Regions from separate parts of the Homo sapiens genome. Here regions 2, 3, 4 and 5 are each linked to region 1. The links are contacts of gene promoters, found by promoter capture Hi-C in human tissues and cell types (Jung and others, 2019). All regions are on one chromosome and are shown on one strand. The core of a region is centred on a gene start or on the middle of the fragment in contact, and the rest is flanking DNA. Distances in the headings are between cores, read along the strand shown.

What was found. Contacts are between HindIII fragments. The study calls those that stand out against the background at their distance.
Region 2: the fragment with the promoter of ZNF598 here is called in contact with the fragment with the promoter of NTN3 in region 1 in 1 of the 25 tissues and cell types used here (dorsolateral prefrontal cortex).
Region 3: a contact is called between the fragment with the promoter of NTHL1 here and the fragment with the promoter of NTN3 in region 1, in 1 of the 25 tissues and cell types used here (dorsolateral prefrontal cortex).
Region 4: the fragment with the promoter of CASKIN1 here is called in contact with the fragment with the promoter of NTN3 in region 1 in 1 of the 25 tissues and cell types used here (dorsolateral prefrontal cortex).
Region 5: a fragment that was not itself captured here is called in contact with the fragment with the promoter of NTN3 in region 1 in 1 of the 25 tissues and cell types used here (dorsolateral prefrontal cortex).

What each region holds. Positions count from the first base shown.
Region 1 is chr16:2,467,987-2,473,090 of GRCh38, forward strand. NTN3 (netrin 3) reads left to right here and starts at 3,311. Exons shown (of 6, transcript NM_006181.3): 1 at 3,311-4,643; 2 at 4,715-4,903; 3 at 4,999-5,104. The coding sequence starts at 3,716. TEDC2-AS1 (TEDC2 antisense RNA 1) reads right to left here and starts at 227. Exons shown (of 1, transcript NR_135198.1): 1 at 1-227. RefSeq lists silencers at 1-125, 136-185, 3,449-3,588 and enhancers at 633-1,176, 1,136-1,275, 1,436-1,515. The HindIII fragment of the contact is 12,116 bases long and covers 1-5,104 here.
Region 2 is chr16:2,006,204-2,011,298 of GRCh38, forward strand. It overlaps ZNF598 (zinc finger protein 598, E3 ubiquitin ligase), which reads right to left and starts at 3,618. Exons shown (of 14, transcript NM_178167.5): 1 at 3,535-3,618; 2 at 3,422-3,533; 3 at 3,321-3,420. The coding sequence starts at 3,544. It overlaps LOC124903626 (a long non-coding RNA gene), which reads left to right and starts at 3,682. Exons shown (of 2, transcript XR_007064941.1): 1 at 3,682-3,899; 2 at 4,105-4,385. RefSeq lists enhancers at 497-1,444, 3,344-4,292, 3,817-3,976 and silencers at 2,917-2,986, 2,997-3,426, 3,517-3,736. The HindIII fragment of the contact is 21,988 bases long and covers 1-5,095 here.
Region 3 is chr16:2,045,028-2,049,882 of GRCh38, forward strand. NTHL1 (nth like DNA glycosylase 1) reads right to left here and starts at 2,807. Exons shown (of 6, transcript NM_002528.7): 1 at 2,682-2,807; 2 at 1,101-1,339. The coding sequence starts at 2,796. TSC2 (TSC complex subunit 2) reads left to right here and starts at 2,958. Exons shown (of 42, transcript NM_000548.5): 1 at 2,958-3,038; 2 at 3,560-3,726. The coding sequence starts at 3,589. RefSeq lists enhancers at 2,211-2,710, 2,302-2,361, 2,812-2,901 and a silencer at 2,992-3,221. The HindIII fragment of the contact is 27,107 bases long and covers 1-4,855 here.
Region 4 is chr16:2,195,144-2,200,589 of GRCh38, forward strand. It overlaps CASKIN1 (CASK interacting protein 1), which reads right to left and starts at 1,462. Exons shown (of 20, transcript NM_020764.4): 1 at 1,196-1,462. The coding sequence starts at 1,289. The HindIII fragment of the contact is 36,898 bases long and covers 1-5,446 here.
Region 5 is chr16:2,741,495-2,747,061 of GRCh38, forward strand. SRRM2-AS1 (SRRM2 antisense RNA 1) reads right to left here. Exons shown (of 6, transcript NR_027275.1): 3 at 2,058-2,225. Among named protein-coding and RNA genes, the nearest start is that of SRRM2-AS1, 8.3 kb to the right of the region's middle. The HindIII fragment of the contact is 3,657 bases long and covers 1-3,285 here.

The DNA.
Region 1 (5,104 bases), core at 2,061-4,560:
CTGCCACGGCCATCACCTTCTCGCTGCGGGGACCCCGCCTGGACCTGGCCCAGGGCTCGTCGCTGGCCGCGCTCAGTGCGGGCCTGGGGCTTCTGACCGCCGCCTTCCTGTGCTGGCGCGCTCGGCGGAGGCGAAGGGCCGGGCGCAGGGAGCCGGGGGCGCCCTGAGCCGCGGGCGAGGCCCCCTCCCATCGAGGTCACCGCGAGCCGGCCGCCCCTCCCTCCAACCTCGCCCCGGCCGGGCGGGCGCAGTGCCAAGCGTGGTCGCAGAGGCCGCCCCCCACACCCCATCCCCAAATCGTTTCTTCTGGAACCCTTTGGGCAGAGAAGGCCACCGGCCGTTTCCCTCCCTCCCTCTCTGCTTTCCCTCTCTTCCCTCCTCCGTCCAACGTCGCATTTCAGCTTTTGACTTGGCGCGCAGAGCTGGCGCGACCGCAGAGCGGCCTGGCTGGGCAGCGGTCTGCGAGGCTGGGGGATCGACCCGGCGCGAGGGTGCTGGGTGCAGGGCAGCGCGACGCGGGCTCGGCCACACCACCCGCCGTTGGGAGCCGGCGCTGTGTCTGCTCCTGGGCTGTCTGCCTTCGGAGCTCGGTTGGAAACCCCCCGAGGCATAATAGGCGCTCGATAAATGTGCAATAGGTGAACATGTGGTGGCTTGCAGGCGTCTGGGGGGAGACAGCAGGTTCTGGGCTGGGCAGGGAATTATTGGATCAACGGGCATCTTACAGGAAAGACTCTCAGCTCCCTGCCGCCTAGGACTGTCCAGCCCATCTATGCCCTCTCCCCAGCCTGTGCCCCAAAGCTGGAGCTGCCACTCTAGGGGTGAGGGGTGGGGTGGGGAGGGGGAGGCGAAGCACTGCGGCCTGAGTTGCAGGTGGGGGGAGGGGAGGCGGAGCTTCTTTGTTGCAGAAGGTGCCAGGAGGGGGCAGGGCCAGTGGAGAGGTGGGAGGTGGGAGAGGCCCCAGCCAGGGGCTGGGACAGGTGGCTGGGTCCCTGGGGAGCAATAAGTCCCGCTTGGGCGCTGTGGGGAGGCCCTTCCTAACTCCCAAACACCATCTGTGAGGGCTGGGGGTGGGGGCAGAGTAGCGTGTGCAGAGGACTGTTCCTGGGGAGAGGCCCTGTGACCAGCGGCCTCCTCCCTGGGGAGCTGGCGGTACAATGGCCCTCTGGGCCCACGGCCTCCCGCCGCTGCTGCTGACCCAGATGAACAATTGGGGCAGGGCTGAGCCCCAGGCACCTACTTTCCCCCACCCCAGAAGCCACCAGACGTTCTGCAGACCCCAGTCCTGGCTCACAGGGAAGCTGAGCTGGAGACAAAGCCAGCCCCTCTGATGAGGGTGGAAGAGGCTGCTGGCCACTGTCCCTCTTGCAGCCTGGCTGGCAGCCAGTCTGGCAGTGGCCCTGACGTCCAGAGACAGCTTGGGTTTCCCCAGAGGCTTGTCTCTGGCCAGTGGGACCCCTCTGTCAGGCCTGGGCTTTTCTCTCCACTGTCCCAGAATGATGATCTCAGCCCCCATAGTCCCCCCAGGGTTCCTCCCACCCTTAGGGTGGGGTGTCGGGGGGTGGGGGTTGGGAGCCAGAAGGACCTTGAAGAGGGTGGTTGGGACGTTTCAGGTTCTAAGCTTGACCCACAGAGCGGAGCGTGAGCCCCGTCAGGTTGAGGTCCCTCAACTTGTAAAGGACACAATTCCCATTCTCTTTATCAGGAAGCTGAGGGGCAGGGGCCCTGTGGCAGAGAGAGAGCCCCTTAGCCCTCTCTGTTCAGTCCTCCGGTGCCCCCATCCCTGTGCATCTGTGGCTGTCACATGCAGATGTGTGGCAAGGAGAAGGTGCCCACCAGCCAGTGTCAGTTGCTCCAGGAGCCAAGCCAGGTGCCCTATCACCCTGTCTTCCCGTTCCTCCCCTCCATGGTCAGGCCCTCCTGCTCCCTCCTCTGGTCCTTCAGTTTCCCCTAGGAGGCTTCCGTGTCCTCCTGCCCCTCCTCTCCCCAACAGCGGGATGCGTCTACCTCTCCATTCTCTTCCTCCTGGTCCTTGCTCATCTCTGGTCGTGTCCAGGGTAGCACCCACGTGGCCTCCTCCACCAGCTGCAGGCCTGGCCTCCCATCTGAAACGGGGCATTCAGGCCTCGATGCTGGCCCTGCACGGAACTTGTTCCCTGCCCCTCCCTGGGATGCTTGGCCTCCTCTGTCAAGGACCTGAAAGTCGGAGGGGAGGAGGTTTCTCTGACCAGAGCTGTTCCTGGACCCTCTTTGGTGGTGTCGCTCCCAGGCACAGCTACCCCATCCCCAGCTAGTCCCCAGGCCACCCAGCTGGGCTTCTGCCTCAGTTTCCCTGCCCAAACGTGCTGTGACGTAGGGCAGTGGGCTCCGGGTTGCGACCAGCCCCTTCCCATGATTAAACCCTACTCCCTGCCCCTGCAGAGGGGTCCTCAACAGCTAACCAAGCCCCCGAACCCCAAGAAGCCACCCCATCCCACCCTCCAGCTTCCATGTCCTCCCTGCCAGCTGGGCCCGTGGCAGAGGTGCCCCTAGAAACTTGCAGACCCAGGGAGCTTTGGGATCAGAATCTGGCCTGGTGCAGGGGATGCTGGCCTCATGTCTTAGCCCAGCTCAGGCCCATGGGGGTGCCCCCCTTCCTCAACATGGGCAGGAGACACTCCAATTTGTGCAGCTCTCGACTTGGGCCTGATGCCACTTGAGACTCATCAAATCCAACAGCTTCAGAGCGCGTGCTGAGTAACAGGCATCTGGCAGGTGAGGAAACAGGAGCCCAAGACATGCAGCCAGAAATGGGGCAGTTGGATTCAAAATTAGACCTGACCGAATCCTGGGTTCCTTCTACTCGAGTAGATGCTGCTTTGGGGATGACCCTTCAACTGGTGGTTACTTGGCTTCCCTACCTGGGGAACATCCAGGGCCTCTGCTGTCAGACCCGGGGCCTTGCCTGCCTGATGGTCTTCAGGGAGGAGGCGACCCAGACCCCCGTCCAGCACGTGGCACAGCCCCAGGAGCAGTAAAGACCTGGCTGTGGGCCCAGGACCCTGCTGGGTGGTCCCCCACGGGCTGCGAAGGCTGAGCTGCCCCCCTCCAGACCCCTCCCGCCAGCGCATTCCTGGCTCCCCGGCCCCTCCCCTGGCTCCCGGGCCTCCCAGCCCCCTTCCCCGCTGGCCCAGCCCGCGTCTGAATCTGCTTCTGATTCCAGCTCTGCGATGAGGCCCCCTCCCCTCCCCTGCCTCCTTCCCGACCCGAGCAGCCCCGCCCCCGGCTGGGCCCGGGCTTGCGCCTGCTGCGCCCCCCACCCCCTCCTGGCACAGCTCGTCCGCCCTCGCTGCAGCCGGGAGGAGGCGGCGGCCCGTGCACCGCAGGCCCCGCCCGCCCACGGCCCTTCCCGGGAGGCCGGGAGACCTGCTCCGCCCGGCCCTCGGTGGGTGAGTGCGAGCGGCGGGTGGGGCCTCCGCGGGCGGAGGCACCGGGAGCGGGGGCGACGCCTGTCATCGCTCTAGGCCCAGCGGGAGGACGCGCCAACATCCCCGCTGCTGTGCTGGGCCCGGGGCGTGCCCGCCGCTGCTCCCACCTCTGGGCCGGGCTGGGGCCGCCCGGGGGCCCTGTTCCTCGGCATTGCGGGCCTGGTGGGCAGAGCCGCGGAGAGGGCTTCTTTTCCCCAAGGGCAGCGTCTTGGGGCCCGGCCACTGGCTGACCCGCAGCGGCTCCGGCCATGCCTGGCTGGCCCTGGGGGCTGCTGCTGACGGCAGGCACGCTCTTCGCCGCCCTGAGTCCTGGGCCGCCGGCGCCCGCCGACCCCTGCCACGATGAGGGGGGTGCGCCCCGCGGCTGCGTGCCAGGACTGGTGAACGCCGCCCTGGGCCGCGAGGTGCTGGCTTCCAGCACGTGCGGGCGGCCGGCCACTCGGGCCTGCGACGCCTCCGACCCGCGACGGGCACACTCCCCCGCCCTCCTTACTTCCCCAGGGGGCACGGCCAGCCCTCTGTGCTGGCGCTCGGAGTCCCTGCCTCGGGCGCCCCTCAACGTGACTCTCACGGTGCCCCTGGGCAAGGCTTTTGAGCTGGTCTTCGTGAGCCTGCGCTTCTGCTCAGCTCCCCCAGCCTCCGTGGCCCTGCTCAAGTCTCAGGACCATGGCCGCAGCTGGGCCCCGCTGGGCTTCTTCTCCTCCCACTGTGACCTGGACTATGGCCGTCTGCCTGCCCCTGCCAATGGCCCAGCTGGCCCAGGGCCTGAGGCCCTGTGCTTCCCCGCACCCCTGGCCCAGCCTGATGGCAGCGGCCTTCTGGCCTTCAGCATGCAGGACAGCAGCCCCCCAGGCCTGGACCTGGACAGCAGCCCAGTGCTCCAAGACTGGGTGACCGCCACCGACGTCCGTGTAGTGCTCACAAGGCCTAGCACGGCAGGTGACCCCAGGGACATGGAGGCCGTCGTCCCTTACTCCTACGCAGCCACCGACCTCCAGGTGGGCGGGCGCTGCAAGTGCAATGGACATGCCTCACGGTGCCTGCTGGACACACAGGGCCACCTGATCTGCGACTGTCGGCATGGCACCGAGGGCCCTGACTGCGGCCGCTGCAAGCCCTTCTACTGCGACAGGCCATGGCAGCGGGCCACTGCCCGGGAATCCCACGCCTGCCTCGGTGAGGCCTTGGAGGGTGGCCTGGGGACCTTGGACACAACCAGCCTGCCCCTGACCCATCCCTCCCTGCAGCTTGCTCCTGCAACGGCCATGCCCGCCGCTGCCGCTTCAACATGGAGCTGTACCGACTGTCCGGCCGCCGCAGCGGGGGTGTCTGTCTCAACTGCCGGCACAACACCGCCGGCCGCCACTGCCACTACTGCCGGGAGGGCTTCTATCGAGACCCTGGCCGTGCCCTGAGTGACCGTCGGGCTTGCAGGGGTGAGCCACCACCGGCCACCTGCAGGCCCTCACCCTCTGACTTCCCAGATCCCCAGACAGGCTTCTGACCAGGCCCTTCCCACCTCTGTCCTCAGCCTGCGACTGTCACCCGGTTGGTGCTGCTGGCAAGACCTGCAACCAGACCACAGGCCAGTGTCCCTGCAAGGATGGCGTCACTGGCCTCACCTGCAACCGCTGCGC
Region 2 (5,095 bases), core at 2,368-4,867, 460 kb before region 1:
CAGGGGAAAGGAGACACTGGGTGGGCTCAGGAACAGGAAGAGGCTTGTGAAAGAACAATGGCTGTGAGCAAGGTGGGCCCAAGGCCACAATCACTGGAGCAGGAGGGCGTGCAGGTTTGGGGCCGGAGTGAGAAATACCACCTGATAGTGGGGGCCTGAGGCTGCCCATCCTCAGACAGGCAGGGAGACCAGGACTGGCTGCCCAGACCTCAGGAGCGGGCAGTGGGACAGCAGTGCAGCCTGGCATGGCCAGCATCGCCCTCCCTGAGGGTGAGGAGGGGGCTGGACAAGGCTGCGCCCCGCAGCACAGTGGCCAGGGTGGAGTCAGGCACGGTCCACTAAGGAGCCAAACAGCAAGACCCTCCCCCGCCTGATGGTTCCAGCACAGCCAGGCTGGGAGTAGGGGACGTAGGGGACATGGAGGCCAGGGGAAGATGGCTATGGGTAGGGGACTTGGGGGCCTGGGGGAGATGCCTGGGGTGGGACTTGGTGGCTGGAGGGAAATGGCTGGGTTGGGACGTGGGGGCAGGGGGGAGATGGCTGGGGCTACAGAGGGAGACAACAGGTCTAGGTCGCCCCAGCAGGAGAGGGTCACGTGTCTGAGGACAGAAGTACAGAACCCATGGGGAGAGGCTTGGGGATGGGCTATGCAGCAAATGATGAGGGGAAGGGCACTCTACGTGAGCCCTGGAGACGGCCAAGCTAGGCCCCAAGGAGAGCAAGAGGCAAATGGGGTGAGGCCTGCTTAGGAACAGGAGGCCCCCAAGACCCCCCACAGGGACAGGTGTGGTGTCTGCCTGGGGCCTTGCTGCTCTACACTCCCCAGCATGTCATGGGCACACAAAAGGACAGCGGTGAGGGCCTGCCCACACGTGGGGAGGGGGACCCTGGGGTTGGCTCCCAGGGCCATCTAGAGAGTCTAGACCTCCAAGGAGCCCAGATGGGGACAGCAGCAGCAGGGAGCATCTTACAGAGGGCCAGGGCCATGGGGGACGGGAGCGGGGTGGGGGGACAGCAGAAGCAGGGAGCATTTTACAGATAGGGCCAGGGCCACGGGGGACGGGAGCAGGGCGGAGGGGGAGCAGTAGGAGTAGGAAAGCATGACCCAAGCCAGCATGTCACCCTCCTGACCTGGGACCTTGGGTAACTGTGGGCTGGCCCTCTGCGCCCCCTCCCACTGCCTGCCTGTAAGGTGCAGGTGGGCTGCCCTGGGGGGCTTGCAGCCTCATCAGGACTCCTGCAGTAACACCAGGGACCAGAGCAAGCTGGAGAGCAAGATGCAAACAGCAGGAACCGGCCCTTGAGAAAGACGCAGCCAGGAAAGAGGCCCAGAACGTGGGGCTCCACCACCCCAGGACCTCTGTCAGCCATGGCCAAGACCAGCGCCCCCACCTCCCACGGAGGGGAGCCTGCCTCGGCTTCCACCCTGAGCACCTGCCAGGGGTCAGGCCCATCTGGCTCCTGGCCTGAGCAGCAGCTGCAGCCTCCACAGGGAAGGCCTGGGTCCAGGTGTGTGGAACTAACAAGCACATGGAGCCAGCCGATTCCACACGGCATCCTGGACACTTTCCTCACAATTTTCGCAAAACCTTAGTCCCATAAGGGAGGCCAAGGCAACGCCAGGGTTCAGGAGTTGAGGGTTGCAGTGGGAATTCCTGAGCACGCATGGGACACAGAATATATTCAGGGGATGGTGCTGAACTCAGTAAGGAAAAAGGAGACTAGAGTGAGGCGGCAAGCTCAAGATGGGAAGAAAATAGAACGAATGCAAAGGAGAGGAGACCAGCAAACAGCAAACTTTCCAGGAGCCCCTCCTTCAGCCCAGTAAGGCGGGGTAGGCCCTAGAGGAAGCCGGCTGGGGGCACCCAGTGCCAAACCACACCCCGGCTGACAGCTCATGTCCGCAGCCCCCAGCCACAGAGCTCCTGGAGGGCGTGGGGCCTACAAGGAATGAGAGCGGGCAGAGGCTGCCACAGTAAGCATACGCAGATGTTCACTCATGTCTTGCATCAGACCTGCAGCCTGGGTCGGGACCTCACGTGCCAAGAACTCCTTAGCGTCTTCTTTCCGGAAGGAAGCTACAGGTGTGCTGGGAAACCTAGCTGTTGGAGAGTGAGGTCATGCTATGCAGGACTGGCTGGCAAGGCAGGCCCTGGCAAAGCCAGGAAGCGCCCTGAGGAAGCCACGGGCCAAGGTCCTCTGTGACTGTTCCTGCACCCCAGATCTCCCCGGGGTCTGGGTCGGCCTCCTCCTGTCACATGACAGACTGATAGAATCTCCAAATGTCTTTTTCCAAAAAGGGCACAGACTATAAGCCCACAAATTGCTCAGAGAATTGCAGCATCTCTTCAACTCCTTTGATGTAAACGTCTACTTAAAGAAAGAAAAGGAAAAAAAGAAAGAACCTACACCTCAATACTGCTCTGCATCACTTCTGGGGAGAAGAAAGTTAGATTCCTGGCAGATGTCACCAGCCGAAGCCTTCTATGAACAAACCGGGGGAATTTCACAATGCTGGAAGCAAACAAATCTCTAAGCTCAGCAAACCAACGGGCTCCAGCCAGGTGCCCACAGCCAGCAGCTGGCAGTGCAGTGAGGGTGGAGGAACGCTGCATGGTACCCTCTGACCCCTCCACGGCTTCCAAGTCTGTACAGTCAAAAACGTCTCCCATTCACTGCGGAGATGAGCGCCAAAGGCGGGGGGCGGCGGCGAGGAGGAGGACAACTTCCTAACACTTTTCTCCCTTCCCGCCAAGAAGCGCGAGGGGGCCTTCCCCTCCGACGGGCAGGTCTCCTTCCGAGGCTAGTGTCACCTCCACTCCACAGAGGAAAACGTCAGTCTCGGAAGGAGTTTGCTCAGGGTCATCCAATGGGGGCCCAGAAACACAGCTGGGCTGAGAATGCCCAGAGTTTGACGCCCTGCTTCCAGGACGGATGGCCTCCGCAGAGTCCCCCTTGCCTTGTTTCCTCGAATGGAGGACCCTGGAAAATAAACTCCTGAAGACGAGCAGGTCACCGAGTTCTCCATCTGATCAGGACCCTTCCTGAGGCCCGGCAGGAACCCCCGGGACACGGGGGAAGTCCCCAGGCTGTCCCCACAGGGCTTGCCCCCTCCTGCAACCCGCTCGGCCGCCTCCGGCCTCCAAGCCCCAACGCCCCGCCGTCAGCCGCACGGCCGGGACCCCGCCCTGGGTGGCCCCACCAGGCCTCTCTCGGAAGCCGGCGCCGCCGGGCCCACGGCCGGACCTCAGTGAGGCAAAGTCCCCATCCGGTCGCCGGGAGCCCCGCTGCCCCCGGGCCGCGCCCCCGGCGCCCCGCACCTGGCGCAGCTCCTCGCGGCACACGGCGCAGTAGCGCTGCTCGCAGAGCACCCGCATCTTGGTAGAGCAGCGGTAGCACACCGGGTGGTCGCAGCGGCCCCAGCGCCGTGGCCTCCAGGTCTCCGCAGCACAGCACGCAGCTCCCGCCTCCCCGCTCAGGAGCTGCCGCCGCCTCCGCCTCCATGTCCGCGCGCCGCCCCTCGGCGCCCCCCGGCCGCCGCCATGGTCCGGGATCCGGCCCCCCTCTCGGCCGGTCGTGGCGCCGAGCGGCCTGGCTCCCGGCGGGCCCGCCCCTTCCGGGCAAACGTCACCGCCCCACCCAGCAACGGGCCCGCCCGGCGCAAGTGCGCGTCGCGACTTCCGCCTCAGCGCGGCGCCGGCTAGAGCGGTGGCCCTGATAGAGGCCGCTCTACCATGAGCCGACCGCTCGAAGGTCCGCGCGGCCACGCGGCCAGCCCCGGGCTCCTCTGGGCCACGCGTGTCACGTCAACACTCGCCGGGCTCCACGAACTGGCGTTGTCAGATGAAACACGGCACAACTGGTTTGCATCTCAGATGAACAAGGGGTCATGTCTTAGTGTAAGTATAGCCCAAATATTGATGGGCTAGGCTCATACTAAAATGCTGCTCCTTATCTGAAATTGACATTTAAGTGGACCTGCCGTATTTGTATTTGCTAAATCTGGCCACCTTATTAGGAAACCGGTCTCTGGTATTTGGAACACACACAAGCGTGGTCCCGCCTCCACTTCCCTAATGCCCTGTTTAAATCCCTACATGAAAGACAACGTGAAAGGCAGCACGTGGTGACGTCCATCTCGCAGCCCAGGGCAGTCTCGCCAGGCCTGCCCAGAAGGGGCCTCTGGAAGGCACGAACGGAACCTGTCCTCTTTACGCTGGGCCCAGCACAGGACGTGTTTGGATGGATGCTGCAGTAACAGGGCCTCCTCCCTACCCTTGAGGGCCAGGCACACTCAGGACCTCCCTCCCTCTGCCATCCAGAAGGCAGGTCCAGATCTAAACCCTACTGGAAAAGAGGCAGTAAATTGTATCAATGAGCCTGAACTTTACTTACTTTATTTGAGACCGGGTCTTGCTCTTGCTGTAACACAGTGGTACGATCACAGCACACTGAGGCCTCAACCTCCTGGGCTCAAGTGATCCATGCCCAGTGAACTTGGACTTTAGAAACAGACACAAATGGGCTTGAAACCCCAATTTTGCCACTTGAAAAAAGCTGTCAGGCACAGTGGCTCAAGCCTGTAATCCCAGCAGTTTGGGAGGCTGGGTGGCCCGGATTGCTGGAGCCTGGGAATTTGAGACCAGCCTGGCCTACACAGTCAGGCTCCATCTCCACAAAAAAAATTTTTAGGCCGGGCGTGGTGGCTCACGCCTGTAATCCCAGCACTTTGGGAGGTTGGGATCACCTGAGGTCAGGAATTGGAGACAAGCCTGACCAAAATGGTGAAACCCCATCTCTACTAAAAATACAAAAATTAGCCGGGCGTGGTGACATGTGCCTGTAGTCCCAGCTACTCGGCAGCCTGAGGCAGTAGAATCTCTTGAAACCGTGAGGCAGAGGTTGCAGTGAGCCGAGATCACGACAATCACGCCACTGCACTCCAGCCTTGGCAACAGAGCGAGACTCCATCTCAAAAAAAAAAAAAAAAACACACACGACTAGAGTGCAGTGGCGTGATCTCGGCTCACTGCAAGCTCCGCCTCCCGGGTTCACGCCATTCTCCTGCCTCAGCCTCCTGAGTAGCTGGGACTAC
Region 3 (4,855 bases), core at 1,557-4,056, 420 kb before region 1:
ATTATCTCAGTGCTTAGAATCGTATGTGGCCGGGCGTGGTGGCTCGCACCCGTCATCCCAGCACTTCGGGAGGCCAAGGCAGGCGGATCACCTGAAGTCAGGAGTTTGAGACCAGCCTGATCAACGTGGTGAAACCCCGTCTCTACTAAAAATACAAACATTAGCTGGGTGCGGTGGTGCATGCCTGTAATCCCAGCTACTCGGGAGGCCGAGGCAGGAGAATAATTTGAACCTCGGAGGCGAAGGTTGCAGTGAGCTAAGATTTCACCACTGCACTCCAGCCTGGGCAACAAGAGCAAGACTTGGTCTCAAAAAAAAACCCAACACGATCGTATCTGGCCCATCACTACTGAACAGCCATTGGCCACTACTATTATGATTGCTTCGTGAATCATCACACTACCCTTTAAAACAAATTTTTTTTTTTGAGATGCAGTATCACTCTTTCACCCAGGCTGAAGTGTGGTGGTGCCATCTTGGCTCACTGCAACCTCCGCCTCCGGGGTTCAAGCGATTTTCCTGCCTCGCCCTCCTAAGTAGCTGGGGTTACAGGTGCCTGCCACCACACCTGGCTAATTTTTGTATTTTTAGTAGAGACGTGGTTTCGCCACATTGGCCAGGCTGGTCTCGAACTCCTGACCTCAGGTGATCCACCCGCCTTGGCCTCCCGAAGTGCTGGGATTACAGGCCTGAACCACCATGCCTGGCCCATACTACCCATTTTACAGACAAGCAAACTGAGGCTCAGAGAGGCCTGTATCCAAGCCACCTGGTAGCAGAATAGGGATTAGAACTCAGCTTGGTCTAAGGGTTTCAGGCCCTGGGACCGTGAAGCAAAAGGAACTCTTCCTTCCTGATATCACACAAAGCCCAGGTCACGCCTGCACTGGGCAGAAGTTCGAGCACGAGGCCCTAAACCACTGGTGTCCTGACCTGCTGAGTGGCTACAGTGATGCAGGCGATGCTCTGGGGCACCGGGTGTCCATCCTCCCAAGGTGCTGTCTGCAGGGGAGGGTGCCAGCCAAAAGCCACCGGGTAGAAAGAAAACAAGGACCTTGCTAAGATGGGGGGTCATCTGGGCAGATGGGGCCCCTGCCTACCTTTGGGGGGGCACTGGAGTCATAGCAGTGCTCAGTCCCCAGATGGTCCACAGGTGCATCCTTTTTGTTCCTCATGGCACGGATGTTGACCAGCTGTTGCTGCCAGTCCTGGGGCTCCCAGACTGGCACCTTGAGGGGCTCAGCCCCCTCACCTTTCTCACTGTCCGAGCCCTCATAGGCCACACGCAGTCTCTGTGCTTTCCGCGGACGCTTCACGGGGCTGTGGCTTTTCCTCGCTTCTGCAAAAAGCACCACGCAGTCCCTCTGGTGGGGCCACAGGTGAAGGTAGGGTAGGGGTGCCATCCCGCCTGCTAGCTCACCCCTCACTCGTTCATGCCACAACTGTCCATCATCTAATACACTTGGGGTGCTCTGCCCTCTGCAGTCTGGGGTATGTGGGCCCTCCTTATGCCAGCGACCCTGACAAGGTCCATGTTAGCTCATGAGGACTCTAGCAACAGCCTGTACCAAGGTGCCCCCAATACATCTTCTATACTGCACCAGAGACAGTCTGCTAACACCCACATCAGGTTGTGTCACTCCCTTTTAAAAAATCCTGGCCGGCCGGGCGCGGTGGATCAAGCCTGTAATCCCAGCACTTTGGGAGGCCGAGGTGGGTGGATCACTTGAGGTCAGGAGTTCAAGACCAGCCTGGCCAATATGGCAAAACCCCATCTCTACTAAAAATACAAAAGTTAGCCGGGTGTGGTGGCAGGGGCCTATAGTCTCAGCTACTTGGGAGGCTGAGGCAGGAGAACTGCTTGAACCTGGGGGGCGGAGGTTGCAGTGAGCTGAGATCACAACACTCCACTACAGCCTGGGTGACAGAGCAAGACCCGATCTCAAAACAAACAACAAAACCTCCTAATTGACTTCCGTTTACTGTCATAATAAACTCCAAACTCTATCCTGGCATCAAAGCTCCTGCCACCCTGGCTGGCATCACCACCTGCCTGCTCCCAGCTGCACCAGTTCCTCCTGACATAGTCTGGACTACCCCTGGGGTCCCTGGGTGCCTATGGGAATCCAGCTCTGGCCAATTCTGCAGAAGTCCCAGCGGGACTAGCGCAGAGGCCCTGTCCGTGTCCCTCACTGCTCACTGCAGTGCTTGGCCCCCAGCAGGTCCTCAACGGCTGCAGGATAAATATAATAAGTGCCATGCCCTTTCCTGTTTTCCCTCAGAGGCACCCTCCCCCGAGCTGGGGGAGCAGGCTTCTGGCTGCGTGTGTCCTTGGCACCCAGCCTCTCCGAGGACAGCAAGTTCACTGCAGGAGGGCGGGGATGGGACCCACAGAGCCTGGAGTGGAGAGTCCCGGACAGAGTGGTGGGAAAGGAAGCGTTTTCTTGCTTGGGGCGAAAGGGGGCAGCGGAGCGGAGCGCCCGAAACCCAGCCCCTGCGGACCGCAATCTTTGGGAAAAAGGCGCAAGGTGGGAACGCAGGGCCGCACGTGGGAACCGTTCGCGGCTGCCGGGTTTGCAGCCCCTGCCCGCGCAGCTGGGAGCCGCAGGAGGCGGCCCGGGACTCCAGCCTGCAGCCCCTATCCCGCCTCCTCCCACGCTCCAGCCACGGCGCGGCGCTACCTGCTGCAGCCTCTCTTCTCCGGAGAGGCCCGGGCTCCTCCCTACACCCCCGCGGCCCAGCCCCGGGTCCCAGGCTCCGGCTCCGGGTCAGCATCCTCGCGCTCAAGGCGGTCATGCCGGACTCCTGCGGACTACACATCCCGGCGGCCCATGCGGCCCCGTCACGTGATGCAAGGATCGCCGGCCTTTCCGCCAGAGGGCGGCACAGAACTACAACTCCCAGCAAGCTCCCAAGGCGGCCCTCCGCGCAATGCCGCTACCGGAAGTGCGGGTCGCGCTTCCGGCGGCGTCCCGGGGCCAGGGGGGTGCGCCTTTCTCCGCGTCGGGGCGGCCCGGAGCGCGGTGGCGCGGCGCGGGGTAAGTGGCGGTCCCCACGGGGCAAGTGGCGGTCCCCACGGGGCAGCGGCCTAGAGAGGCGGACCCCGCAGTGTCCGGGTCCCGGGCCCTCACCCGCGCCCACTGCAACCCGACTCCGGAGCTCCGAGCATCCCTTAGTTTTAAGTCATGGCGGGTGCGAACGGGTCTCTGCTGCAGGCGGCTCCGTGACAGCTCCTGCTTCACATGGGTAGAGGAGAGACGGCAAACGTCGGGGCTCCCAGGACTTCGCGGCGGCAGTCCTAACCCGTGCACTGAGTCGGGCGGGGCGGGCGGCAGCGTCTGAGTAGAGAGCTCTCTAGACCAGGCCTGGTGTCTCCCGGGCTTTCCTAGGTGCCTGTTTGCGAGCTGGTCAGCTGGGCTGTAGTTGAGTTCTCCCAGGGAGTGTGGGAGGAAAGGTTATGCCCACCAGAGACCCAGGGTCCTGACGGCTGGAGGTCCGCAGTGGGGAAGGTGGGCAGAGGTGTTGCTCAGATGTCCCCATTCCTGTTTCGTTTGCACAGAGGGGTTTTCTGGTGCGTCCTGGTCCACCATGGCCAAACCAACAAGCAAAGATTCAGGCTTGAAGGAGAAGTTTAAGATTCTGTTGGGACTGGGAACACCGAGGCCAAATCCCAGGTCTGCAGAGGGTAAACAGACGGAGTTTATCATCACCGCGGAAATACTGAGAGTGAGTGAGCTACCTGTGTCTTTGCTAGGCTAGAGGGAAATGCAGAGAAGGCTGGGTTTGGTCTTGCACCAGGTTCTGTGGGAGACGGGTTGCTGGCAACTGTCTACACAGGAATGCTGTCTCCAGTACTTGGAGGCCGACATGTCCTTCCTCAGGAGACTTCGAAAGTCAGGATCTTGGTGACCTGGTTCAGGCACACTTGAGTTACTATTCAGATGTTGATGAAAGAAAGCCCATCTTATAGATGAGGCCTGAGTATCATCATCTTCACAGGTAAGGATATGTCCAGGTGTTACATGATAAGATGTGAGTTCCTGGGAGAAGTAGGTTCTTTATTTTATTTTTTTTTTGAGACTGAGTCTTGCTCTGTTGCCTAGGCTGGAGTGCAGTGGCACAATCTCTGCTCGCTGCTACCTCTGCCTCCCAGTTTCAAGTGGTTCTCCTGCCTCAGCCTCCTGAGTAGCTGGGACTACAGACACGTGCCACCACACCCATTTAATTTTTGTATTTTTAGTAGAGATGGAGTTTCACTATCTTGGCCAGGCTGGTCTTGAACTGCTGACCTCAGGTGATCTGCCCGCTTTGGCCTCCCAAAGTGCTGGGATTACAGGCATGAGCCATCGCACATGGGCTAGGTCGTTATCTTTTATGTGTGTTTGTGTCTTTGTCACACATGCCTGGCATTGTGTTTTGCCCATGAGTAAATGCTGAATTTTTGCACTTGTAAAGTTTTCTACTTAGAAACAACTAAAACGTTCATCAACTGATGAATAAAATATAGTCCATCCTGGCTGGGTGCGGTGGCTCACGCCTGTCATCCCAGCACTTTGGGAGGCCGAGGCGGGTGGATCACCTGAGGTCAGGAGTTTGAGACCAGCCTGGCCAACATGGCGAAACCCCGTCTCTACTAAAAATACCAAAAATTAGCCGGTCATAGTGGTGGGCGCCTGTAATTCCAGCTACTCGGGGGGCTGAGACGAGAATTGCTTGAACCCGGGAGGCGGAGGTTTCAGTGAGCCGTGATCGCGCCACTGCACTCCATCCTGGGGAAGAAGAGCAAAACTCCGTCTAAAAAAAAATTGTGCAGTTTGAAATTGTATTTCATGTTATGTTTTATCTCAATACAACA
Region 4 (5,446 bases), core at 212-2,711, 270 kb before region 1:
CTGAAATCAGCTCGGGGCCAGCCTGCAAGGCACCGGTGCCCCCTCTCTCTTACTGCACAGAGTGGACAGGAGCTAGCCAGTCATGGGCTGCTGGTGAAGTACGGGGGAGGGGGTCCTCCTGGGACTCCTAGGTGCCCCCAACAATCTCCCAGAAGCCAGTCCCAGTTCTCGGCATCCCCCTGGAGGAAGGGGAGGGGGACTCTCTGGCTTACAGTCTGTGGGGGTGGAGGGAGGAGGGAGGACGCCCAGACCCCACGTGCCGACCTGCAGAGCCCTGTCCGTGCCCGCACAGGTGCCCTGACACACTGACACGGCTATACGTGCGCAGCCGCACACGCGGCTGGTCCACACGCCCATCCATCCATCTCCGGCGGCCCCCAGGGAGGCTACGCGCTGAGCCAGGATGAGTGCTGGGACCAGGGCTCCAAGCTCCCAGCCCTTTCCTGGGGCCGGCCATAGGGCAAGCTGGGGATGGCCAGTGGTGGTCCCCCACTCCCTCATGGCCTCCTTTCCCAGCAGGGAAGCTGGAGACCCGGCTCTGCTGGAGCCTGCCTGAGCAGGGCCCCAAGCCCTTGCGCCCAGGCCGGCCCTGCCTGGAGTCCAGCCTGCCCTGGGCTGGGCGACCTTGGGCCTCTGCTCTCCCATCAGTAAATGGCACCCCACCGGCCATGCCAGGGCAGCCACACCCCCAGCGTGGTCCTGCCCCCACCTTCCCTGCAAAGCGTGTTATTAAACGTGGGGCGGGAGGGGGTCTGCTAGGGACTGTCACCTCCCGGGTCGCCCCTCGCCGCAGGGGCCCCCTCCCTGTCTTCCCGGTGCGTGTGGTGGGTGGGGGGGGCATCCGCCTCGCCCTTTGAAGGCCCCAGCAGAGACCTCCAGCTGTCAGCCCGCAGCCTGGGAAGGGAGGGGGACAGAGGTAGAGAGAGAGGGATGCGAACGCCCGCGGCCCGGGAGGCGGGTGCCGCCAGGTGCCCGCTGCGGGGCTCACGGTGGCGGCCGGCTCTCGGGGCCGCCCCATCTCCAGTGCTGGGGGCAGCGGGTGGAGGGCACGGACCAAGGGTCTGGGCGCTGCTGGCCCCGCCCCGCCCCCGGGGACCCGACAACGTCCCCTCCCCGCCCGGCGCCGGGTGGGGGGCTCCGCGCCGGGGAGGGGCCCCCGGGGCTCCCACCCGCGCCCCGCGCCCCCGGCACTCACTGGCCTTCCCGGGCCGCGGCCTCTGCAGCAGCCTCTGCGCGGTCCCTACGTCCTCCGCCTTCACCGCCTGCACCAGCTCCTGCTCCTTCCCCATGGCGCGGCCGGGGCCGCAGCGACGCGGCTGCGCTCGTGAGCTCGGCGCGGCTCAGAGGCGGCGGCGGCCCCGCGGCACCGGCCGCCTCCCCCGCCGCCTCCCCCGCCGCCTCCTCGCCGCCCGCCGCCCCTTCGCCCTCCTCGGGCTCCGGCTTGGGCTCGGGCTCCCGGCGCGGAGGGGGCGGGGAGCGCGTCACGGGCGGGGGGCGGCCCGGGGGCGGGGGCGCGCGGCGGGCGCGGGGCGGGGGCGCGGCACCTGGCGCCGCCTCCCGGACGCCGGGGTCCGCTCCCGGGCCGCCGACCTCCGTCAGCCCGCGCCGGCCGCGCGCCCGGGCCCGTGGCTCCGCCCTCCCCGCGCCCGCCCCGGGACGCCCCCTCCCCACGTGCGCGCAGCGCGCTCAGGCCAGGCCTCTGCGGACGCGGGCGGCCTGGGGCTGCTAGCCGGGCTGGGGACGCGGCCGCCGGGGGTGCACTGGGAGCCCCGACGCGGCGGCGGCGCGGGGCTGAGCCCAGAGAGGCTTCCAGAGGCTGCGGGACCCGCGGGGGACGGTTCCGAGGCAGCGGGCGGGCGGGGACCGGGCGCCGAGAGACCCGGGCGCCAGTGCCCCTGGAGCCGGCCCGCCAGGCTGTCAGGCGTTCCTGGCCCAGGGTTCCCGTGGGAGGTGTCGAGGGATTGTGAAGAGGAATCTCCCAATAATGAATTCGGTGTCAGGGAACCCGCACCCCCAACCCCCAAGCATCCTCCTGCTCCTCTCCGCAAATAATGCGGGCGCCACAGCTTCCCCCAGCCTCAGTCCGAAGCCTGACCCCAAGGTAGCCCCCACCACCCCCACTGAGGGAGCTCAACTCCCCACTCCCCGCACCGACTGGGGGTCGCCTCCATCTCCATCCACAGGGGCTGGAACCTCCCGCCGGCACCAACCGACCCCCGGCCCACGTCTGCCCACTCTCCAGCCTGCAGCCCAGGCAGGCGAGTCCTGCTTCCTGGGTGCTGGAGGCCCCGACTTGTGACCCTCTGAGCTCCTGGCTGAAGGCTTGGGCCACCCTGCGCCTCAGGCCCTCTCCCGTCAGGCCTGCAGCATTCTAGAGGCAGATCAGTGGGGGTCTGAGTCCCGACTCAGGCTCCGTTTCCCTCATCACCCAAGCGGGCAAGGCCGTTTGGAGAATTTGGGGAGGGTCGCACCCATTCTATGAGGCATGGCCTGGCACCCCACTCTGTGTGGCCCCAGACCATTGAGCAGGTCCAGGGGGACAGAGGAGGTCAGACAGCAGGGACAGGGAAGGTGACAGGCACCGGGGTCCCGGCATCCTGTGGGCAGCTGGCCGTTCCCGTTCCCTCCGTGGGGTCTCCTGTTAGGTTCAGGTAGCAGCCCTTGGTCTTCCAGCACTCCTGGGAGGGGTCCCCAAATGCTAGGGCCTTTCCTCTTGCCCTTTCCAATGACCAGTTGAGTACCCGCTGGGTCAGGCACTGTGCTGGTCACCTCCTAGATGAGGTTGGACTCACTGTCCCCATTTTACAGATGAAGAAACTGAGGCTCAGAGAAGCCAAGGGGCTCACCTGGGGTCCCAGAGTCTTGAGGTTGTAAGTCTGGGCTTTGCACCCGCACCTCTGGATGTGTCCTATTCCCCCTCTTAGTGGTTTGTGACCATGAGCTGGTCACTTTGTCATTCTTTTTTCTGAGACAGGGTCTCGCTCTGTCGTCCAGGCTGGGGTGCAGTGACGCCATCATAGCTCACTGCAGCCTCAACATCCCAGGCTCAAGCAGTCCTCCCGCCTCAGCCTCCTGAGTAGCGCCCGGCTAATTTTTTTTGATTTTTAATAGAGATGAGGTCTCAGTATGTTACCTAGACTGGTCTCGAACTCCTGGCCTCAAGCAGTCCTCCCACCTCAACCTCCCAAAGTGCTGGGATTGCAGACGTGAGCTACCACACCCAGCCCACTGCCTAAGTGTCTGTGCCCCTCTGTAAAATGAGGATATGCATGCTACCTCCCCTTAGGTTACTGGAGGATAAATTGTGATACTATCCACAAAGCATTTCACGGCAGGACTTAGTAAGTGCTCAAAAAAATGGCTGCTGTAGATATTGTGATATTCTTGGGCCTCTCTGCCTGTGCAGCAACTGTGTTTTGTGCATCTTTGTATCTACGCTACCTTGCAGTGTGAAGAGCACATAGGAAGAACTAAAAATAAAAATAAGATAGCTGCTGGCATTACTATTACTTTTATGTTTTGGACATGTTAAGGCAAACCACCCTGACCTGTGCTTAACACACAAACAGAAGCCCACACACCAAATGTTCAAATATTTAAACGCTACAAATCACGCCAGTCACCTGTTAAGTATGTTCTATTCTCCTACCTTGACAAATATACCTTCATCATGGCCTGAAAGCCCAAGTTCGAATTGAGAATTCTCAGATTCCTCGGGTGATGAACTGGCCCCCGTTTGTAGCTACCTCACCTGTTCTCTGCTCAGCTCCAGCACTGTCCACACCCCATAAACAGGCACCCCCTTAGTCGCTCCTCAGAGCTAGGGTGGGCACCCTGCTGCGTGGCCCACCTTCAGGAGGACAGACTGGGCAGAGGGCTGTGCCGATCCTGGAAGTGGGCTTGGGGCTGTTTGGGCAGGAAACTCCAGGGTCCTACGTGCTCAGAGTGTGGTCTAGAAGGGGCACCTAGGCTCCAGGTGGATTGCTGCTCAGGACCTCAGAGATTCCTCACCCCATGGGGTGCAGTGTGGCAGGAGGGGACCAGAGCCTTCTGCTAGGTGAGGATAAGCCCAGGAGGGACTGGGAAGCGTTGGATCTGATGCTGTAACCAGTAACTTTGGGTGAGTCCCCGATGCTCAGCTGCCTCATCTGTGAAATGGGCCAGCAGCTCCGCCTGCAGCTTAGGGCTGACGGGAAGGTCCCCATGAAAACAGATGTGTGTCTGCCTGGGGTCCCTGCAGCCTGGGGATGGGGGGGCAGGGCAGGTGGCCACTCTGGCTGGGGGATGAGGATGCAGAGGTGTGGGACTCGGGCAGCCCTCCAGGAAGTCAAGCCTCCAAGGATGATCCTGGGAGGGGGCCTCTGAGCCAGCAGAATTGCTGAGGCTCAGCCTGGAATGGAGCTGGCGGAGGCTTCACTGCAGCCTGGGCTGGCCTCCTTCCCAGATGTACGGTGTGTGCCGGCCAGCCCGCAGCCCCTTCCTCTGCCCACTGGCTGTGTGTCTGCTCAGGGGCTCCCTGGTGGTCCCCCAAGCCCCCAAAGCTCTGGTATGGGCATGAGGAACGTGCCCTCCCATGGGCTGGCTGCTGTGGCTCCTCTCATTCTTGTGGCACCGCCTCTGACAGCACTGAGCTGGGGCCCGGACCATCACCGAGGATCGACCCCCACACACCACCGTCCCAGCCTCCTGCCCCACAGAAATGCAGGAGCTACTCAGGTTGGGTTGGGGCCACGACCAGTTTGTCAGCTTCCCCTAGGCTTGGGACACATGCAGGCTCCCAGAGCTGGCCCCTGCCCTCAGCCCCCATGTGCCGCCCAGAGGCCCCACGGAAAAGGCAAACAGTGCAGGGCCCTGAGACACGTAGGACCCCACGCACCTAGCTGAGCCTGCCTCAGCCCCACCCTGTCTCCTGCTCTCTGCTCCCGGGTCTATGCTGCTCCAGACACTGCTGGGATTCGAAGGCGCTTCCTCTCCCAGCCATCCAAGCCCACATGCTCACCTCTACTCCCCAAAGCTGCCCCAAGCCTGGTATAGAGCCTGGTTAGAGAGCCCCTGTCTACTTCGAGAGGAAGATGAGGAGGACTATGGGGTGCAGGGGCTGCCTGGGGAGTAGTCACCTCACCAGAAGGGGCATGATCAGTGGCAGGTGGAGCCCCAGCAGGATGGGGCCCGGCCTAGAGCTGAACAAACCCTGGGCTCCACCACCTTCTAGCCCTATGCCCTCCACATGCAATTCTGCATCTCTGAGCCTCAGTTTTCTCATCTCCAAAATGAGGGTGATTCTTCCCTACTGGAGTCATTGTGAGGACTCCATGCATAAGGCAGGTAAAATGCTCCTATAGCCCAGCAATTCCGCTCTGCGTATTTACCAAGAGATGCAAACACGTTCTCAGACATTGGCACACAACCACACAACCATTCACAGCAGCCCCATTCATGACAGCCA
Region 5 (5,567 bases), core at 207-2,706, 270 kb after region 1:
ACACCGTGACAGAAAAGCAAAGGAAGCTCCAGCCAATGTCCTGGAGCTCAGATGAAGCCACCTCCTCCCTAACCTAACCCTGACGCTAGCCCCTAGCAGGCGGGTCCCAGGTGGAGTCTCTTGGTGCGGAGAAGCAAACAGTGACACCACAGCAATGGACCCAATGGCCACCCCTCACACCACAAGCCAAGCCACGTGCCTGGGGCTGTTCCATCAACAGAGAAGCTTCAGCTACCTGGGAATGCTGTGTGGCCCACAACCTCCACTGTCCTGGCCCTAGGCACAAAATGAAGCTGTAGAATTCTCAGACATGCCTGGCCAACATGGTGAAACCCCAACTCTAATAAAAACACAAAAATTAGGGCTGGGTGCAGTGGCTCACACCTGTAATCCCAGCACTTTGGGAGGCCGAGGTGGGCAGATCACGAGGTCAGGAGATCGAAACCATCCTGGCCAACATGGTGAAACCCCCATCTCCACTAAAAATACAAAAATTAGCTGGGTGTGGTGGTATGTGCCTGTAGTCCCAGCTACTTGGGAGGCTGAGGGTGCAGTGAGCTGAGATTGCACCACTGCACTCCAGCCTGGAAACAGAGTGAGACTCCATCTCAAAAAAAAAAAAAAAAAAAGAAAAAGAAAAAGAAAAATTAGCTGGGTTGGTGGCGCACCTGTAGTTCCAGCTACTCAGGAAGCTGAGGCAGGAGAATTGCTTGAACCCGGGAGGTGGAGGTTGCAGTGAGCTGAGATCGCACCACTGCAGTCCTGCCTGGGCAACACAGTGAGACGCTGCCTCAAAAAAAAAAAAAAAAAAAAAAAGATTCCTCAGACCCAGGAGGCAGACACCGGCAGTGGGGAGTCCATCCCATGGGGCTGCTGGCCTGGGCTTAGCAGGTGCCATGTCCAAACCAGACTCTAAAGGGCTGGGTCATGGGCCTTGGTAGAGGGCTGGGACACCTGGGGTTGGGGGAGGGCACCATAATCTAATCCTCACAAAGATGCCACTGGAGTGGGGGCCAGGAGACCCAGGGCCTGGACAGACTGGAGCAGTGAGCAGAGGTCTCAGACAGGCTGGCCTGGACCCTCACGATGGCCCCATCCCACTGAGTACAGGCTCCACACCAGATACTGCCCACTCTGCCCTTTGCAGGGACCTGCTGGTGGCCTCTGGGCAGGGACTCTGCCCCTCTGAGTTCTGTCTCCCAGAGGCCTTGGCATCCCACCCTCTACCCCTGGGCTGGTGGAAGGAGCCAGGGGGACACATGAAGGCTCTCAGAGCAGAAGCGGCCGGCGTAGTCCTCACAGTGAGGGCCAGGCACACCGCACGGGGGGTTCTAGGCTCTGGGGTACGAGGTCCCGTAGAGTCCCCCAGCACTGCTCCTGCTGAGCCTGGGATACCAGCCCGGGGATGGAGCCTGAGGGGTCCACAGAGGCCTTTCTCGTGGGAGTGGAAGGGAGGCTTTGCGTTGTCTGTGTTGGAGATCATCCCTCACTCTAGAGCTGTGCTGCAGCCAATACTAGGGTATGGGGTGGCTGTGTTAGGAGGGAGGAGATGATTTCACTGTAAGTGTGCAGCTTATTTAGGAAAAGTGTAAAGCGTCCTCGAAAACTTGCCAGCCAGCTGGACGCTGGGGGAGGCTCTGCTTCTCCAGGCAAGGATGTGGCAATGCCCGACAGGACGGCGGGCCTTCTCCTGAGGCGCGTGGTTCTGCCACCGGCACATCCCCAGGCCTTCGCAGAATGGAGGCCCAGGGTGCACAGAGCAGGGAAAGTGCTGCTGGCCACACCCCCTTGGCCAGGATACCCCCACCCCAGCCCTCTGTGGGTGTCTGGACCAGGATCTGCTCCTCGGAGGACCCCCACAGGGCTCCCACCCTGCTAGTCTGAAATCTGCTCCCTCCTGTACGACCCTGTGACCCTGTCATGGGACTTCATCCCAAGTCACCTCACCCTGGCTCCTCCACCATTAAGGTCCACGGTGTCCCCATGGGCAGCCAGAAGCCATCCAGAGGGTGGGGCATCTGGAGAGTGTTTGGAAAGCCGGGCCCCATTCCTCATACCTCACCAGGTGCCGGCAATGGATACAGATGGAAGCATCCACAGAGCGGCCATCCAGACAGTGGAGGAAAATCTGGATGGATTCCTTTCTGGTTTGGGAGCGGGGAAGGCTTCCTGAGCACCATGCAAAGCCAAGATCATTGCTCTCACTACTTACAAACTGAAATCTTCTGCAACAAAAACAACAAACATCGTTGGTAAAGTGTAAACGGATGCTGTCAACTGGAAAGAAACATTTGGCAGGTCACATGAGAAACAGACCCAGTTTCCTGGATATTTGCAGGCGTCTTGGAAAAAGAGAAGAGGAAGGCCAAAGACCCCAAAGAAACAGAGTGAAGGGACCTGTGATTCCTTTGTGAACACCACTACCCCATGATGAAGGGGAATCGAGGTAGAAGGGAGGATGCCACTGCTGGTTTTCAGATGGAGAGAGTGTCCTGAGGATCTGGGGCCCAGTGTGATCACAAGGGTCTTGAAATGTGCAAGGTCAGGCAGGAGCCTCAGAACATGGAGAGGCAACAGGGGAAAGCCTTGTCCGCCACTACTGGCTTTGGGGATGGAGGCAGCTATGAGATAAGGGTCTCAGGCAGCATTTGAAGCTGAAGGCAAGGAGATGGATTTCTCATTGAGAGCCTCCAGGCAGCAACACAGTCCTGGGGCACATGCGTTCCAGCCGGTGAGACCCCTGTTGGACTTCTAGCCGCAGAACCGTCAGGTCCGATACTGGAGTTTATAGCCACTTGGTTTGTGCGAATTGGCTGCGGCAACCACAGGAACCTCACGTGGGGTCTGCACACACAGTTCACAGGAAGGGAAATTAAAATGACCTCTCATGTACAGAGGATCCTCAGTCTCATAACAGGGAAACGCAAACTTCTTGGGGAGAGAGGCAAAAAGCAACACACCCTGGGCCAGGCATGGTGGCTCATGTCTGTAATCCTAGCATTTTGGGAGGCCGAGGCAGGTGGATCACTTGAGGTCAGGAGTTTGAGACCAGCCTGGCCAGTATAGTGAGACCCCGTCTCTATTAAAAATACAAAAATTAGCCGGGTGTGGTAGCATGTGGCTGTAATCCCAGCTACTCAGGAGGCTGAGGCATGAGAATTGCTTGAACCCGGGAAGCAGAGGTTGCAGTGAGCCAAGATCACGCCACTGCACTCCAGCCTGGGCAACAGGGTGAGACTCAATCTCAAAAAAAAAAAAAAAGGCAACACGCTCTGGCGGCAAAGTTTTGTTGAACAGGCATCTGGGCACTACAGGCAGGGAACAATTAGTACCTGGCTGCAGAGGGCAGAGTGACCCCATTGACCAGGTCACAGATGCATTTATGCTGTGACAGAGATGTCCCTCCGGGCCAGGGCAGCGCAGCATGCTCCTGACACAGCTTGGCCTGTGCCATGAAGAAGGCAGACAGCCACAGGGGGGTTTGTCCAAAGATACACAAGGCATGGGAGAAACCAACCCCAGGCTGACCCACTGGGGTGGGACAGGTAAGGGGGGAAGGGCAGCAAGCCAGACTCCTCCCAACACGCTTTGTATTTTTGAACTATTTGGAGTCGCTCTGTATTGGAACATTTTCTGCTCAAAACACAGGGACTGGTCTGCCATCAAGTAACGGTATTGGAGCCAACCTTCTCTGGGGGCAGATTGGGCCACTCAGGAGCTCACAAGCCCTCCTCAGCCCTGCAGGTACCTGCCTGGAGGGGCCTCTGCACAGGGCATTCCTGGGTGGGCAAAATCAGCCACACTGGCCTGGAGGGAAGCTGGGGAGGGGGGAATTGCGGCTGTGTATCACAGAGGAAGACAGCAGCACTGCCACTGGGGCTGACCTGGAAGGTGCGTGGGGCTCTGGGGTAGACCCAGCCCTGGCACACAGGGCTTCAGGCACTGGAGACCTCACCTAGCAAACCCCGCACACACAGATGGAGACGGAGTCTTTAGTGTACAGGGGTCGATGAGACCCCTGCAGGAGAGGGACTGCATCTTGGCCACCCGTTGCGTCTCAGCCCCCTACTTCCTGCCCCTGCCTGGCTGTGCAAGCTCTCCTCTCCCTACATCTGCCTCCCACTGTTCCTACACCCCAAGTATGGAAAGGTCCCCTCTCCAGGGCCCCCGAGGACTGGAATCCACATTCGCACCTACGGCCTTGAGTGGTGCTGGGCATACAGCCCACTAGACGATCTTCCTCCCTGGTTTAGGCACCTCGGGCACCCAACCCTGCAGAGAGCAACACGCTCAGCTGGGGGACTGAGGACTCCCCTGAGGCTGTGGGTGCTTGTCACTTGCAGAAGGGCACCTGGAGGGATGGGCGTGGGCCCTGTGCCTCCTTGACAGGCCCATAGGTGGGGATTTGTGTGTTGGGACCATAAGCTCTGACTGCAAACAGAATTTTAAAAACCCCACTCACAGAGAGCTAAGCTGACAGCTTCCTAGCTCCCAGAAAGAAGAGCTGAGCTGTGTGAAGGCTGCAGGCACTGTGCCGAGCACTGTCCCTGCTGAGGGGAAGTGCATCGTGTCCTGGCCCACGAGCCGAACCTGGGTCACAAAGGTTTCCACAGGCTCCCGGTGCAGCATTGAGGAGTGGGCGCGTCTGGCTGCGGTCACCAAGCTGGAGCAGGGAAGCTGCTAGGGCTCCTGGATGCTGCCTGGATTTGTCTGCCACCTACCTGCCCCTGGATCTCTGCACCCACCTACTAGCCTGATGACAATGTTGCCTGACATGGTTGGTGCCTTGAGCACCAGGAGAATGCAGAGCTCCATTTTTTTTTTTTTTGGAGACAGAGTCTCACTCTGTCGCCCAGGCTGGAGGGCAGTGGCACGATCTCGGCTCATTGCAATCTCCACCTCCCGGGTTCAAGAGATTCTTCTGCCTCAGCCTTCAGAGTAGCTGGGATTACAGGTGCCCACCATCACACCCAGATAATTTTTGTATTTTTAGTAGAGATGGGGTTTCACCATGTTGCTCAGGCTGGTCTCAAACTCCTGACCTCAGGTGATCCACCCGCCTTGGCCTCCCACAGTGCTTGGATTACAGGCATGAGCCACCGTGCCGGGTCGCAGAGCTCCTCTTTATTCAGTGATTCATGAGTTAAATTAATCATGTCATCAACCAGGTGGGCCCAATTTCATAATTAATGAATTTCAAATGAATTTAACTCATTTCCTGTAGATGGGCATTTAGGCTTTTTTTTGGGGGGAGGGGACAAGAGTCTCACTCTGTCACCCAGGCTGGAGTGGAGCAGCACGATCACGGCTCACTGTAGCCTCAACCCCCCAAGGCGCAGGTGATCCTCCTGCCTCAGCCTCCCGAGTAGCTGGGACTACAGGTGCATACCACCATGCTCGAGTAACTTTTGTATTTTTAGCAGAGACAGGGTTTTGCCATGTTGGCCAGGCTGCATTTTTTTTTTTTTTTAAGACGGAGTTTTGCTCTTGTTGCCCAGACTGGAGTGTAATGGCATGATTTCGACTCACTGCAACCTCCCGGGTTCAAGCGATTCTCCTGCCTCAGC